Regions from separate parts of the Homo sapiens genome. Here region 2 is linked to region 1. The links are contacts of gene promoters, found by promoter capture Hi-C in human tissues and cell types (Jung and others, 2019). All regions are on one chromosome and are shown on one strand. The core of a region is centred on a gene start or on the middle of the fragment in contact, and the rest is flanking DNA. Distances in the headings are between cores, read along the strand shown.

Evidence for each region. The method cuts DNA at HindIII sites, captures the fragments that hold promoters and counts their contacts. A contact is called where the count stands out against the background at its distance.
Region 2: a contact is called between a fragment that was not itself captured here and the fragment with the promoter of GP6 in region 1, in 2 of the 25 tissues and cell types used here (neural progenitor cells and thymus).

The regions. Positions count from the first base shown.
Region 1 is chr19:55,035,467-55,042,090 of GRCh38, reverse strand. GP6 (glycoprotein VI platelet) reads left to right here and starts at 3,827. Exons shown (of 8, transcript NM_016363.5): 1 at 3,827-3,888. The coding sequence starts at 3,855. The region is part of intron 2 of GP6-AS1 (GP6 antisense RNA 1); the gene reads right to left. It also overlaps a transcript of RDH13 not described here. The HindIII fragment of the contact is 34,893 bases long and covers 1-6,624 here.
Region 2 is chr19:54,920,427-54,927,050 of GRCh38, reverse strand. NLRP7 (NLR family pyrin domain containing 7) reads left to right here. Exons shown (of 11, transcript NM_001127255.2): 11 at 3,179-3,536. The coding sequence ends at 3,311. It also overlaps a transcript of NCR1 not described here. Among named protein-coding and RNA genes, the nearest start is that of NCR1, 18 kb to the right of the region's middle. RefSeq lists enhancers at 5,723-6,222, 6,223-6,624. The HindIII fragment of the contact is 4,526 bases long and covers 73-4,598 here.

The sequences.
Region 1 (6,624 bases), core at 2,578-5,077:
TCAGAAAGCAGGGAGGGAGGGGGAGTCAGAGGTGAGGGGGTCATCAGCCATAGCTGTCCGCTGCATCACCCCCTCGCTATCTCCAGGAAGCGTTCTGGGCTTTTCCTGTTGTGCAGTGTGGAAGTGCTCTATCTTCATTCATATCAAGGAAAGTCAAAGGACAAACTAAAGCCGGCAGCGTCTTTCTGGCTTCCTAGTCAGGCTGTTCGGTAGCGGAGTGTCACCCTGATTTCCAGCCCCGCAGCACACACAGTGAGAGCCTGCCTGGCGTGATTCAGAGGCAACGTATTTCCCAAGGTGGCTGTGAAGGAACCAGGGGGATAAACACAGCCCGTGAACCGCACGCCAGAGGACAGGTCCGGCTGCCTGCCGCGGAGTCGTCACGGCGTGTCGCGTCTGAGCGCTTCTCCAAAGCACCCAAGTGGCACCCGGGGTGACAGTTACATCATCTTGAGTACAGTTCTCTCAAGGAAAAAGCAAGCCCAGCATCTTCTGCCATGGCAACCCTGGCTTGGAGCCTCCATAAGAGAGAAGGCCCTAAGAATAATACCATTTTCTTGCTCTAAGTTGCTCTTACGGGAAAGAAGTGATAATATTCTTCCTAAACGCCATCATTCGTGCATCCTTCCCACCTATATGTGTCACCGGATCATTCTCCGCCTGGGCGGGGCCGTCCTGTGCACTGCAGAATGCTGAGCAGTGTCCTTGGCTTCGACCGACCACATGCCAGGAGCACCCCAATTTCTGCCATCGGGTGATTGACTTCACTGTTGCATTTGATTTTTTATGTATCTTTTAAAAGGACCCAATAGGGCCAGGCACAGTGGCTCACACTTGTAATCCCAGCACTTTGGGAGGCTGAGGTCGGTGGATTGCTTGAGCCCAGGAGGAGTTCAAGACCAGCCTGGGCAACATAGTGAAACCCCAACTCTACAAAAAACAAATGTTTTATTTTTATTTATTTTAGATGGAGTTTCACTCTTGTTGCCCAGGCTGGAGTGCAGTGGCGCAATCTCGGCTCACTGCAACTTCTGCCTCCCGGGTTCAAGCGATTCTCCTGCCTCAGCCTCCTGAGTATCTGGGATTACAGGCATGCGCCACCACACCCAGCTAATTTTGTATTTTTAGTAGAGATGGCGTTTCTCCATGTTGGTCAGGCTGGTCTCAAACTCCCGACCTCAGGTGATCTGCCTGCCTCGGCCTCCCAGAGTGTTGGGATTACAGGCGTGAGCCACCACGCCCAGCCGGGTTTATAGTTTTATAACCCTTATGACAAATCTCATAGTATTCTGCAGGGATAAGCATGAAACCACTCGTTCAATAAGTGCAAACAAAAACGCCAACAATTCTTAAGACATTTCTAATCTTATTTTACCAATAATTTTAAAGCCAGCTTATGTATTAAAGATTTATAACTACTTTTATTAACACGTTTAAAATTCTATGCAGCTTAAAGCATTTATAATGGATAAAACTGCCAATACTGAGTGCCTGACATAATATTTGAAAGGTGGCAGGCATTCAACCATGGTCACTGAATGAGAGATGTAGGGAAGATGATGGCAGGGAGGTTTTTAGATATCAACACCCTGATAGTTCTCATTTTAACCACCTGTAAGTGCACATACAAGTCAACGGCACTGGCCGGGCGCGGTGGCTCATGCCTGTATTCCCAGCACTTTGGGAGGCCAAATCACAAGGTCAGGAGATCGAGACCATCCTGGCTAACACGGTGAAACCCCGTCTCTACTAAAAATACAAAAAATCAACTAGGCATGGTGGCACGCACCTGTAGTCCCAGCTACTCAGGAGGCTGAGGCAGGAGAATCGCTTGAACCTGGGAGGCGGAGGTTGCGGTGAGCCAAGATCGCGCCACTGCACTCCAGCCTCGGCGACAGAGTGAGACTCCGTCTCAAAAAACCAAAAAACAAAAAACAGTCAATGGCATTAAATATAAATACATTTACAGTGTTGTGTAACCATCACCACTATGGATCCCCCAGACTTTGTCATCATCTTCAACCTAAGCGCTCCCTATTAAATAGTAACTCCCCACTTTTCCCAGGCCTTGGCAACCACCATTCTAATCCCTGTCTCTATGAATTTGACTCCTCTCGATACCTCAGATAAGCGGCACAATGCAGTATTTATCTGTCAAGTCCGGAATATTTCCTTTAGCATAATGTCTTCAAGGTCCATCACGTTGTAGCATGTATCTGAATTTATTCTTTTATAATATTTTTTATTTTTTGGAGACAGAATCTCGCTCTGTCACCCAGGCTGGAGTGCAATGGCGCGATCTCGGCTCACCGCAACTTCCGCGTCCCGGGTTCAAGCCATTCTCCTGTCTCAGCCTCCGGAGTAGCTGGGACTACAGGTGCCTGCCGCCATGCCCGGCTATTTTTTTTTTGTATTTTTTGGGGGTTTTACTGTGTTGCCCAGGCTGGTCTTGAACTGCTGAGCTCAGGCAATCTGCCTGCCTCAGCCTCCTAAAGTACTAGGATTACAGGCATGGGCCACCACGCCCGGCCTTATTTTTATTTTTGAGACAGTCTCACTCTGCCGCCCAGGCTGGAGTGCAGTGGTGCGATCTCGGCTTACCGCAATCTCTGCCTCCCAGGTTCAAGCGATTCTCATGCCTCCGTCTCCCAAGTAGCTGGGATTACAGGCACCTGCCACCATGCCCGGCTAATTTAACGCCCAGCTAATTTTTGTATTTTTAGTAGAGATGGGGTTTCACCATGTTAACCAGGCTGGTCTCGGACTCCTGACCTCAGGTGATCCGCCCGCCTCGGCCTCCCAAAGTGCTGGGATTACAGGCGTGAGCCACTGTGCCTGGCTGATTTTTATTCTTTTAGTTAAGGCTGGTTGATATTACCTTGTGTGTATATACCACATGTTGTTTATCCATTGTTGTTGATGGACATGTGGGTGGTTTCACCTTTTGGCTATTGTGAATAAAGCTGCTATGAACACTGTGTACAAATATGTTAGAGACCCTGTTTTCAGTTCTTTTAGGTGTGTACCCCGAAGTGGAATTGCTGGATTTTATGGCAATCCCACGTTTAACTTCTGGAGGAGCTGCTGGAACTGTTTTCCACAGCAGGGGCGCCATGTTACGTCCCTGCCAGCAATGCACGCGCAGTTCAATTTCTCTGCATACTCACCAATATCTGCTGTTTTCCATTAAAAAAAATTATAGCCGGTCGGGTGCAGTGGCTCATGCCTGTAATCCCAGCACTTTGGGAGACCGAGGCAGGTGGATCAACTGAGGTCAGGAGTTCAAGACCAGCCTGGCCAACACAGTGAAACCCCATCTCTACTAAAAATACAAAAATTAGCCTGGTGTGGTACATACCTATAATCCCAGCCACTTGGGAGGCTGAGGCAGGAGAATCGCTTGAACCTGGGAGGTGGAGGTTGTAGTGGGCCGAGATGGCGCCACTGCACTCCAACCTGGGCAAAAAGAACGAGACTTTGTCTCAAAAGAAAAAAAAAAAATACAGCCATTCCAGAAGGTGTGAAGTCATATCTCACTGTGGTTTTGATGCGTATTTTCCTAGTGACATCAGGGAGTTTATGGGAGCACGGGAACACAGACCAGGCCCCAGCAGGCGGACAAACGGTGCAACGCCAGGCTGGCCAGAGGAGATAAGCGCGGCTCCTTGGAGCTTGTGTGCAAGTCACTGTACTGAGGAGCCGGCTACGGCTCGATGAGTCTCAATTAGGAAAGGCCGGGGCTGGTGGAGGAAGGGAGGAGAGCATTCTTCATCCTCATCACATCCTGAGCCTGTGCCCCAGGCTCCCACCACTTCCCTCCCTGGCCACAGAGCTCAGGACAGGGCTGAGGAACCATGTCTCCATCCCCGACCGCCCTCTTCTGTCTTGGTGAGTCCTGAGGGTCAGATCTGGGAAATGCTGAAGGACAGGCATGGACTGCCAGACAAAGGATTTTTAAGAAATTTGCATTGGTGATGAATTTCAGGACAAAAAGGAACCTGTAAGAGCCCCTTCATTTGTTGGGTGGGGAAACGGGGGGCCAGCGAGCTGGCATTTTGCATGAGTTATTCCAGTGTATTCATGGCTGGGTCAGGAAATGAACAGAGTATCCTAGCATTGGTCACAACTTTGTTCTACTACACTGCAGTTGCCCCTTTTTTAAAAAATGTGGGCCAGGCACAGTGGCTCACGCCTGTAATCTCAACCTTGGGAGGCCGAGGTGGGTGGATCACCTGAGGTCAGGAGTTCAAGACCAGCCTGGTCAACATGGTGAAACCCCATCTCTACAAAAATTAGCCGGGCGTGATGGCGGGTGCTTGTAATCCCAGCTACGTGGGAGGCTGAGGTGGGAGAATTGCTTGAAACTGGGAGGCAGAAGTTGCAGTGAGCTGAGGTCAGGCATTGCACTCCAGCCTGGGCAACAGAGAGAGCCTCCATCTCAAAAAAAAAAAAAAAAAAAAAAAAAAAGGCTGAGTGCCATGGCTTACACACTTTGGGAGGCCGAGGCGGGTGGGCCATCTGAGGTCGGGAGTTTGAGACCAGCCTGACCAACATGGAGAAACCCCATCTCTACTAAAAATACAAAATTAGCCGGGTGTGGTGGCACATGCCTGTAATCCCAGCTACTCTGGAGGCTAAGGCAGGAGAATCGCTTGAACCTGGGAGGTGGAGGTTGCGGTGAGCCAAGATCACACCATTGCACTCTGGCCTGGGCAACAAGAGCGAAACTCCGTCTCAAAAAAAAAAAAAAAAAAATTGTGGAATTGATATCTGGACTAGGTATGGATTTAATTTGTCAGTATCCCCTACAGTAGTGGAGTAAATAGTCTCCTGATGGATGGGTGGCAGGTCGAATGCATTTCTGCTGCCTGATCTTCACTTGTGCTGGGCATGTCGAATGCATTATTTCCTGATTTCTTCAGAATTTGACCACTAAAGGGACAGCATCTCCAAAAGGCTAAGCAGGAAGAAGATGGTTGCATTACTGGAGATGAGAGGGTTAACTGTGAATATAAACAACCTCTCATTCATTATCCATCCATGGATGTATTCTTTTTTTCTTTTTGTTTGTTTTTTGAGATGGAGTCTCGCTCAGTCGGTCGCTCAGGCTGGAATGCAATGGCATGATCTCAGCTCACTGCAAACTCTGCCTCCCGGGTCCAAGTGATTCTCCTGCCTCAGCCTCCCGAATAGTTGGGATTACAGGCATCTGCCACCAGGTCTGGCTAATTATTGTATTTTTAGTAGGGGCGGGGTTTCACCATGTTGGCCAGGCTGGTCTCAAGCTCCTTACTTCAGGTTCCACCCGCCTCGGCCTCCCAAAGTGCTGGGATTACAGGCGTGAGCCACCGCACCCAGCCTGTTTTAACTTTTATTTATTTAATTTTATTTGAGATAGGGCCTCACTTCTGTCACCCAGGCAGGAGGGCAGTGGCATGATCATGGCTCACTGCAGCCTCAACCTCCCAGGCTCAACCAGTGCCTCCCCATCAGCCTCCTGAGTATCTGGAACTACAGTTGTACACCATCATGCCTGGCTTGTTTTTGTAATTTTTTTAGTTACGGGGGTCCGCTATGTTGCCCAGGCTGGTCTTGAACTCCTGGGCTCAAGCGATCCACCCACCTCGGCCTCCCAAAGTGTTGGGGTTACAGGTGTGGCCTGTACAGGTTACTGCATCTGGCTTGTTGCTTCAGTAGCTTTTGGGATACAAGTGGTTCTTGGTTACATGGATGAATTATATTCTGGTGAATTCTGAGATTTTAGTGCACCTGTCACCTGACTAGTGTACCTTGTACCTAATGTGTAGTTTTTCATCCCTGCCCCACTTCTGCCCTTCCCTTCTGAGTCTCTGAAGTCCATTACATCACTCTGCATGCCTTTGCATACCCACAGCTTAGCTCTCACTTATAAGTGAGAATATACAGATTTTTGTTTTCCACTCCTGTATTACTTTACTTAGAATAATGCCTTCCAGCTCCATCCAAGTTGCTGCAAAAGACTTTTTTTTTTTTTTTTTAAAGACGGAATCTCGCTCTCTCACCAAGGCTGGAGTGCAGTGGTGTGATCTCGGCTTACTGCAAACTCCACCTCCCGGGTTTAAGTGATTCTCCTGCCTCAGCCTCCCGAGTAGCTGGGACTACAGGCACCCGCCACCATGCCCGGCTAATTTTTGTATTTTTAGTAGAGATGGGGTTTCACCATGTTGGGCAGGATGGTCTTGATCTCTTGACCTCGTGATCCACCCACCTCGGCCTCCCAGAGTGCTGGCATTACAGATGTGAGCCACTGTGCCTGGCCAAAAGACATTATTTCACTCCTTTTAATGGCTGAGTAGTATTCCACGCTCATTTATTTTTATTTATTTTTATTTTTTGACATGGAGTCTCACTCTGTTGCCCAGACTGGAGCGCAGTGGCATGACGTTGGCTCACTGCAACCTCCACCTCCCAGGTTCAAGCGATTCTCCTGCCTCAGCCTCCCAAGTAGCTGGGATTACAGGCTCCTGCCACTACGCCCCGCTAATTTTTGTATTTTTAGTAGAGACAGGGTTTCACCATGTTGGTCAGGCTGCTCTCGAACTCCTGACTTCAGGTGATCCGCCCACCTTGGCCTCCCAAAATGGG
Region 2 (6,624 bases), core at 1,086-3,585, 110 kb after region 1:
TGGCGCGATCTTGACTCACTGCAGCCTCCTTCTCACAGGTTGAAGCGATTTTCCTGCCTCAACCTCCTGAGTAGCTGGGATTACAGGTACACACCACCACAGCTGGCTAATTTTTTTTTTTTTTTTTTTTTTTTAAAGACAGAGTCTCTCTCTGTCCCCCAGGCTGGAGTGCAGTGGCGCTATCTCGGCTCAGTGCAACCTCTGCCTCCTGGGTTCAAGTGATTCTCCTGCCTCAGCCTCCTGAGTAGCTAGGATTACAGTCGCTCGCCACCACACCCAGCTAATTTTTGTATTTTTAGTAGAGATGGGGTTTTGCCATGTTGGCCAGGCTGGTCTCGAGCTCCTGACCTCAGGTGATCTTCTCGCCTTGGCCTCCCAAAGTGCTGGGATTACAGGCATGAGCCACTGCACCTGGCCAATTTTTGTAGTTTTTAGTAGAGATGGGGTTTCACCATGTTGGTCAGGTTGGTCTCAAACTCCCAACCTCAGGTGATCCACCTGCCTCAGCCTCTCAAAGTGCCGGGATTACAGGCGTGAGCCACTGTGCTCGGCCCTGGGATGGCTGTTTCACATGGTGAATTTCCCATGCAGAGAAGAGTTTTTTTGGGAGTGTGTGTACTCTTTGTAGGGATCAACTTAAGGCATCTTTCTATAGCACACTCCTAGCTTAGGAGATAATTTAAAAATTAGATACTTTTCTAAAATGCTCTGTGAATTGAATATTGTCCAACTTTCCCCCAAAACACTTAGTCCTAGGCATACTGAGAGTTTAAATCATCCTGGAGTACAGACTGGAAGCTTGTGTGTATGTGTGTGCATGAGCACACACACACACACACACACACCCCTAATCATTATATCCAAAAATAGGTAGTTCCCAGAGCTGTCCTGGGTCTTAGCTTTTCAGAAGATCGTCCTACAGATGCTCCCTTAGTTGTGACCCGTGTATATCTTTTCAATGACTTATTTGTATTTTTTATTTTTTTTTGAGACGGAGTCTTTTTTTTGAGACGGAGTCTGTCTTTTTTTTTGAATCTGTCTTTTTTTTGAGACAGAGACTCCAGTCTCTGTCGCCCAGGCTGGAGTGAAGCGGTGCGATCTCGGCTCACTGCAAGCTCCACCTCCCGGGTTCACGCCATTCTCCTGCCTCAGCCTCCCGAGCAGCTGGGACTACAGGCGCCCGCCACCACGCCCGGCTAATTTTTTGTATTTTTAGTAGAGATGGGGTTTCACTATGTTGGCCAGGCTGGTCTCGAATTCCTGACCTCAGGTGATCTGCCCACCTCGGCCTCCCAAAGTGCTGGGATTACAGGCGTGAGCCACCGCGCCCGGCCTCAGTGACTTATTTTAACGTAATCTACCTTTAGTTTCTTCTTGCCTTTGTCTTTTCTTTTCTGAGACAACGTTTTGCTCTGCTGCACTGTGTGGCCGTGTTGCCGAGGTTCTCAAACTCCTGGCTTCAAACGATCCTCCTGTCTTGGCCTCACAAAGTACCCGGATTGCAGGCGTGAGCCACTGTGCACAGCCCACTTGTCTTATTCAAGAGTTATTTTAGTTGTAGAGATGATACGCATGTAAACTGCTTCATGATGCCCAGTGTTGCATTATTGGAACGCTAAGCATGTGGGAGTTATTTATATCCTGCTCAAGGTACGATTTTTCACACGTCTGCAGTTCAAATAATTGTAACCTCTGGCATAAATGGGTTAAGGTTTTAGGGGTATATCATGAAACTTGAGCTAAATAGTGTCATGCTTCTCTTGTTGGTGGGACCGAGGTCTGTAATGCCACCAAGGACTATTGGTGACAAATCTCTAGCCCCCTGTGGTCTCTTATGTCATATGTTTGGGGCGTATTTCTTTTCTCATTCCTCAGTTCCTCCTTTGGGAGGCCAAGGTGGGAGGATTGTTTGAGGCCAGGAGTTTGAGACCAGCCTGGGCAACATAGCAAGCCAGTGTCTCCACAATCACCACCCCTCATGTTCACATACACAGGCTTGCATGCTGCAGCCACGTTAGAGCCAAGTTTGCTATCATTAACCCTGGGGTTCACTCTGGCATTCTCTTAGTTCTACTGAAGGTTTGATTTGCCACTATTTTTTATTTATTTATTTGGAGGCAGAGTCTCGCTCTGTCACCCGGGCTGCAGTACAGTGGTGCGGTATTGGCTCACTGCAACATCTGCCTCCCAGGTTCAAAGCGATTCTCCTGTCTCAGCCTCCTGAGTAGCTGGTATTACAGTTGTCTGCCACCATGCCCAGCTAATTTTTGTATTTTTAGTAGAGACGGGGTTTCACTATGTTGGCCAGGCTGGTCTCGAATTCCTGACCTCAGGTGATCTGCCCGCCTCGGCCTCCCAAAGTGCTGGAATTATAGGCGTGAGTCACCGTGCACCAGCCTGATTATCTATTTTTTAAATTTATTTTTTAAAGGCATGTTTTACTCTGTTACCAGGCTGGAGTGCAGTAGGGCAATCTCTAGCTCGTTGCAACCTCCGCCTCCTGGGCTCAAGTGATCCTCTTGCCTCCGCCTCCCGAGTAGCTGGGACTATAGGCGTGCACCACCATTCCTGGCTAACTTTTTCTATTTTTGGTAGAGACAGGGTTTCACCGTGTTGCCCAGGCTGGCCTTGAACTGCGGAGCTCAAGCAATCTGCCTGCCTTGGCCTCCCAAAGTGCTGGGACTACAGGTGCGAGACACCGTGCCTGGCCATAATCTTTTTTTTCTTAGACTTATAAGGATCCCCATTGTGTGGGTCTAAATTTCTTTTTAGAAAACTTTTCTGACTGGGTGCTGTGGCTCACATCTGTAATCCCATGGCTTTGGGAGGCCGAGGTGGATGGATCACTTGAGGCCAGAAGTTCGAGACCAGCCTGGCTAACATGTCGAAACCCCATCTCTACTGTAAATACAAAACTTAGCCAAGCGTGGTGGTGCACACCTGTAATCACAGTTACTCAGGAGCCTGAGGCATGAGAATTGCTTGAACTTGGGAGCTGGAGGTTGCAGAGAGCCAAGATGGCACCACTGTACCCCAGCCTGGGCAACAGAGCAAGACCCTGTCCCCCAGAAAATCCCAAAAACGTTTCCTGCTTTGAGTGTTTGAAAACAGATATTCAGGCATCCTGGGTAGTTGAGAATGAATTTCTGGGAACATTTGTGTTCTCTGATCCCTCCAGGTTGAAGACCTATGAAACTAATTTGGAAATCAAGAAGCTGTTGGAGGAAGTGAAAGAAAAGAATCCCAAGCTGACTATTGATTGCAATGCTTCCGGGGCAACGGCACCTCCGTGCTGTGACTTTTTTTGCTGAGCAGCCTGGGATCGCTCTACGAATTACACAGGAAGCGGGATTCGGGTCTCTAAGATGTCTTATGAATGCAGGTCAGAGGGTCACATGTTAACACTAGAGTCTGTCGAGAGGTAGGATTTGACACTGGTTTTCTCACTATTTTTGGGAGATTCTGCACGAGTCACGCACCCCCTTCACATGACGCTATGTACTTTCTCACAGGGATAATAAAGTTAGAGCACTCTCGTTGCAGCTGCGTTTATTGACATGCTCAGGAGCAAACCTGCAATAAACATGGTACTCTGTGCTTTGTCTAGGAGGAAGTATTGCTAAGAAGTTCAGGGATGATTCGGTTGATTCTTCTATTTCTTTTCTTCCCTAACTCAGGCGCCATGTGGTCTACTATCTGCCAGGTGCATCTATGTGATCAGTGTGTCTTTGTGACTTATGTGATCATAACTTATGTGATCAACCCACGCATTGACAAACGGGCCAGATAGTTCATATGCTTGGCACTGTGGGCCCCGCGGTCTCTCATCAGCTCTCAGCTGTGCCTTTGGACATGGAAGCAGCGCAGGGCCTGGCTGGCACCTGCGGAGGCTTCCCAGAAACAGCTCGTGGGCCATGGGCAGCCAGCCCTGTTCTAATCTATCCTGTTACTCACAAAGCACAAGCTTACAGTCACTGTTGCCTTTAATTCAGAAGATGGCCCTGCCTCACGCTGGTTCTGCTCGGCTCCCACGGGCCGCCTCCTACTCTCTGTGTGTGTGTGTATGTGTCTCTCTCTCTCTCTGTCTCTGTGTGTCTCTCTTTGTTTCTCTGTGTCTGTCTTTTTGTCTCTCTGTCTCTGTGTCTGTTTCTGTGTGTGTGTCTCTGTGTCTGTCTGTGTTTCTCTGTGTGTGTCTCTGTCGCTGGGCGTTTCTATCTCTGTCTTTGTATGTGTCTCTCTGTTCTTTCGTTTTTTTTTTTTGTTTTTTTTTTTGAGACGGAGTTTCACTCTTGTCGCCCATGCTGGAGTGCAATGGCGTGATCTCAGCTCACTGCAACCGCGCCTCCCAGGTTCAAGTGATTCTCCTGCCTCAGCCTTCCGAGTAGCCGGAATTACAGCCCTGTGCCACCATGCCTGGCTAATTTTTTGTATTCTTACTAGAGACGGGGTTTCACAATGTTGGCCAGGCTGTTCTCGGACTCCTGACCTCAGGTGATCTACCCGCCTCAGCCTCCCAGAGTGGTGGGATTACAGGCGTGAGCCACCGAGCCCAGCCTGTCTGTCTGTTTCTGTGTGAGTCTGTGTGGCTGTCTCTGGGAGTCTCTGTGTATGTCTCTGTCTCTCTCGCCTCCCCGTTTCTCTCGGCTTCCCATTGCCATGGCAAACACAGCTTTTCCACACCCTGTATTTGGTCATTCATAGAAAATGCATAGAAGTCACTCCGCAATTTTCCTTAAGAATGAAAAGTTGTCACCATGATGTTAGCACTGGCTTCCAGGCGCTGCCAAAAGGGACTGACCCCTCTCCTCACTTGGCTCTCCACGCTTGCGGTAGGTGATGAGACTATTTTAATAAGAGCAGCCAGGCGCTGTGGCTCACACCTGTAATCCCAGCACTTTGGGAGGCCGAGGCGGGCGGATCACCTGAGGTCAGGAGTTCGAGACCAGCCTCAACATGGAGAAACCCCGTCTCTACTAAAAATACAAAATTAGCCGGGTGGGGTGGTGTATGCCTGTAATCCCAGCTACTCGGGAGGCTGAGGCAGGAGAATCGCTTGAACCCGGGAGGCGGAGTTTGCGGTGAGCTGAGATTGTGCCACTGCACTCCAGCCTGGGCAATAAGAGCAAAACTCTTGTCTCGAAAAAAAAAAAATAAGAGCATTGATATGGGGAAAGTTGTCATGGTCCCAGGCACAAAAACACGGGCATATGGCTAATGCTTTAGGTTGAAAGCTTGTATGACAAAGTTTTCTTTTCTTTTTTTTTTTTTTTTTTTTTTTGAGATGGAGTCTTGCCTCTGTCGCCCAGGCTGGAGTGCAGTGGTGCGATCTTGGCTCACTACAACCTCTGCCTCCTGGGTTCAAGTGAGTCTTCTGTCCCAGCCTCCGGAGTAGCTGAGACTAGAGGTGTGCGTCACCATGCCTGGCTAATTTTTGTATTTTTAGTAAAGACGAGGTTTCACCATGTTAGCCAGGCTGGTCTTGAACTCCTGACCTCAGGTGATCTGCCCGCCTTGGCCTCCCAAAGTGCTGGGATGACAGGCGTGAGCCACTGTGCCTGGCCTGACAAAGTTCTTTTTACTAACCCAAACCTGGAGGTTGAGTGGCTTCAGCACTGAATGATCCCATGAAGGCCCTCATTTATCTTGCTGTTGAGCATTGCTGTCTTTCGTGAGCCCTTGTCAAGATAAGTCTTCTCAAATGCTCGAGATCACTGTGGTGTTTAAGGCTACAGTCAGCTGGTAGTAATGCAGGCTGTGGGTGGTAACAGTGTTTAGCGGGATACAGCTCACACCGATGGGAAGGGTGGTAGAGACAGCGTGAATAAAGGAAGTGGTCAGGTGATGAGAGGTAGGGCTGAGTCAACATTTAGGGTTCTACATGCACATGAAGTTCCCGTGTAGAATTTGCTAAAAATAAAGACACAAAGATAGTAGGTAGAGGCTGGGAGTGAAAACATCTGGGTCGGACTCTGCTGCATATTTAATTGAAGTTTTTTTCCCCTAAATATTTTATCTACTTAAAAATTTTGATTTTGTTTAAGATAGTAGTCTTTTTTTTGGTGGGGTGGTGGGGCGGACAGAGTCTCACTTGGTTGCCTAGGCTGGAGTGCAGTGGCGTGATTTCACCATGTTGGCCAGGCTAGTCTCAAACTCCTGACCTCAGGTGAGCCACCCGCCTCGGCCTCCCAAAGTGCTGGCATGACAGGCGTGAGCCACCGTGCCCAGCCAAGATGGTGGTGGTGCTGTGTTGCCCACAGCCGGGTTGGAGTGCAATGGTGCGATCTTAGCTCACTGCAGCCTTAAACTCAAGGAATCCTCCCACCTGAGCCTCCTGAGCTGGGATTACAGGTGCATGCCAAACATGCTTGGCTAATTTTAAAATATTTTATAGAGATGGAGTCTTGCTGTATTGACCAGGCTTGTCTTGAACTGCTGGCCTCCAGTTATCCCCTTGCCTTCGCTTCCCAAAGTGCTGGGATTACACGCGTGAGCTGCCACACTGGGCTCTTACCCACTTACCAGTAATAAACACAGAACTCCTAAAGTGCTGTGATTACGGCGCCTGACCAGCCTTAATTACCTCTGAAAAGCCCTGTGTCCAAATAGAGTCACATCTGGGGTAGG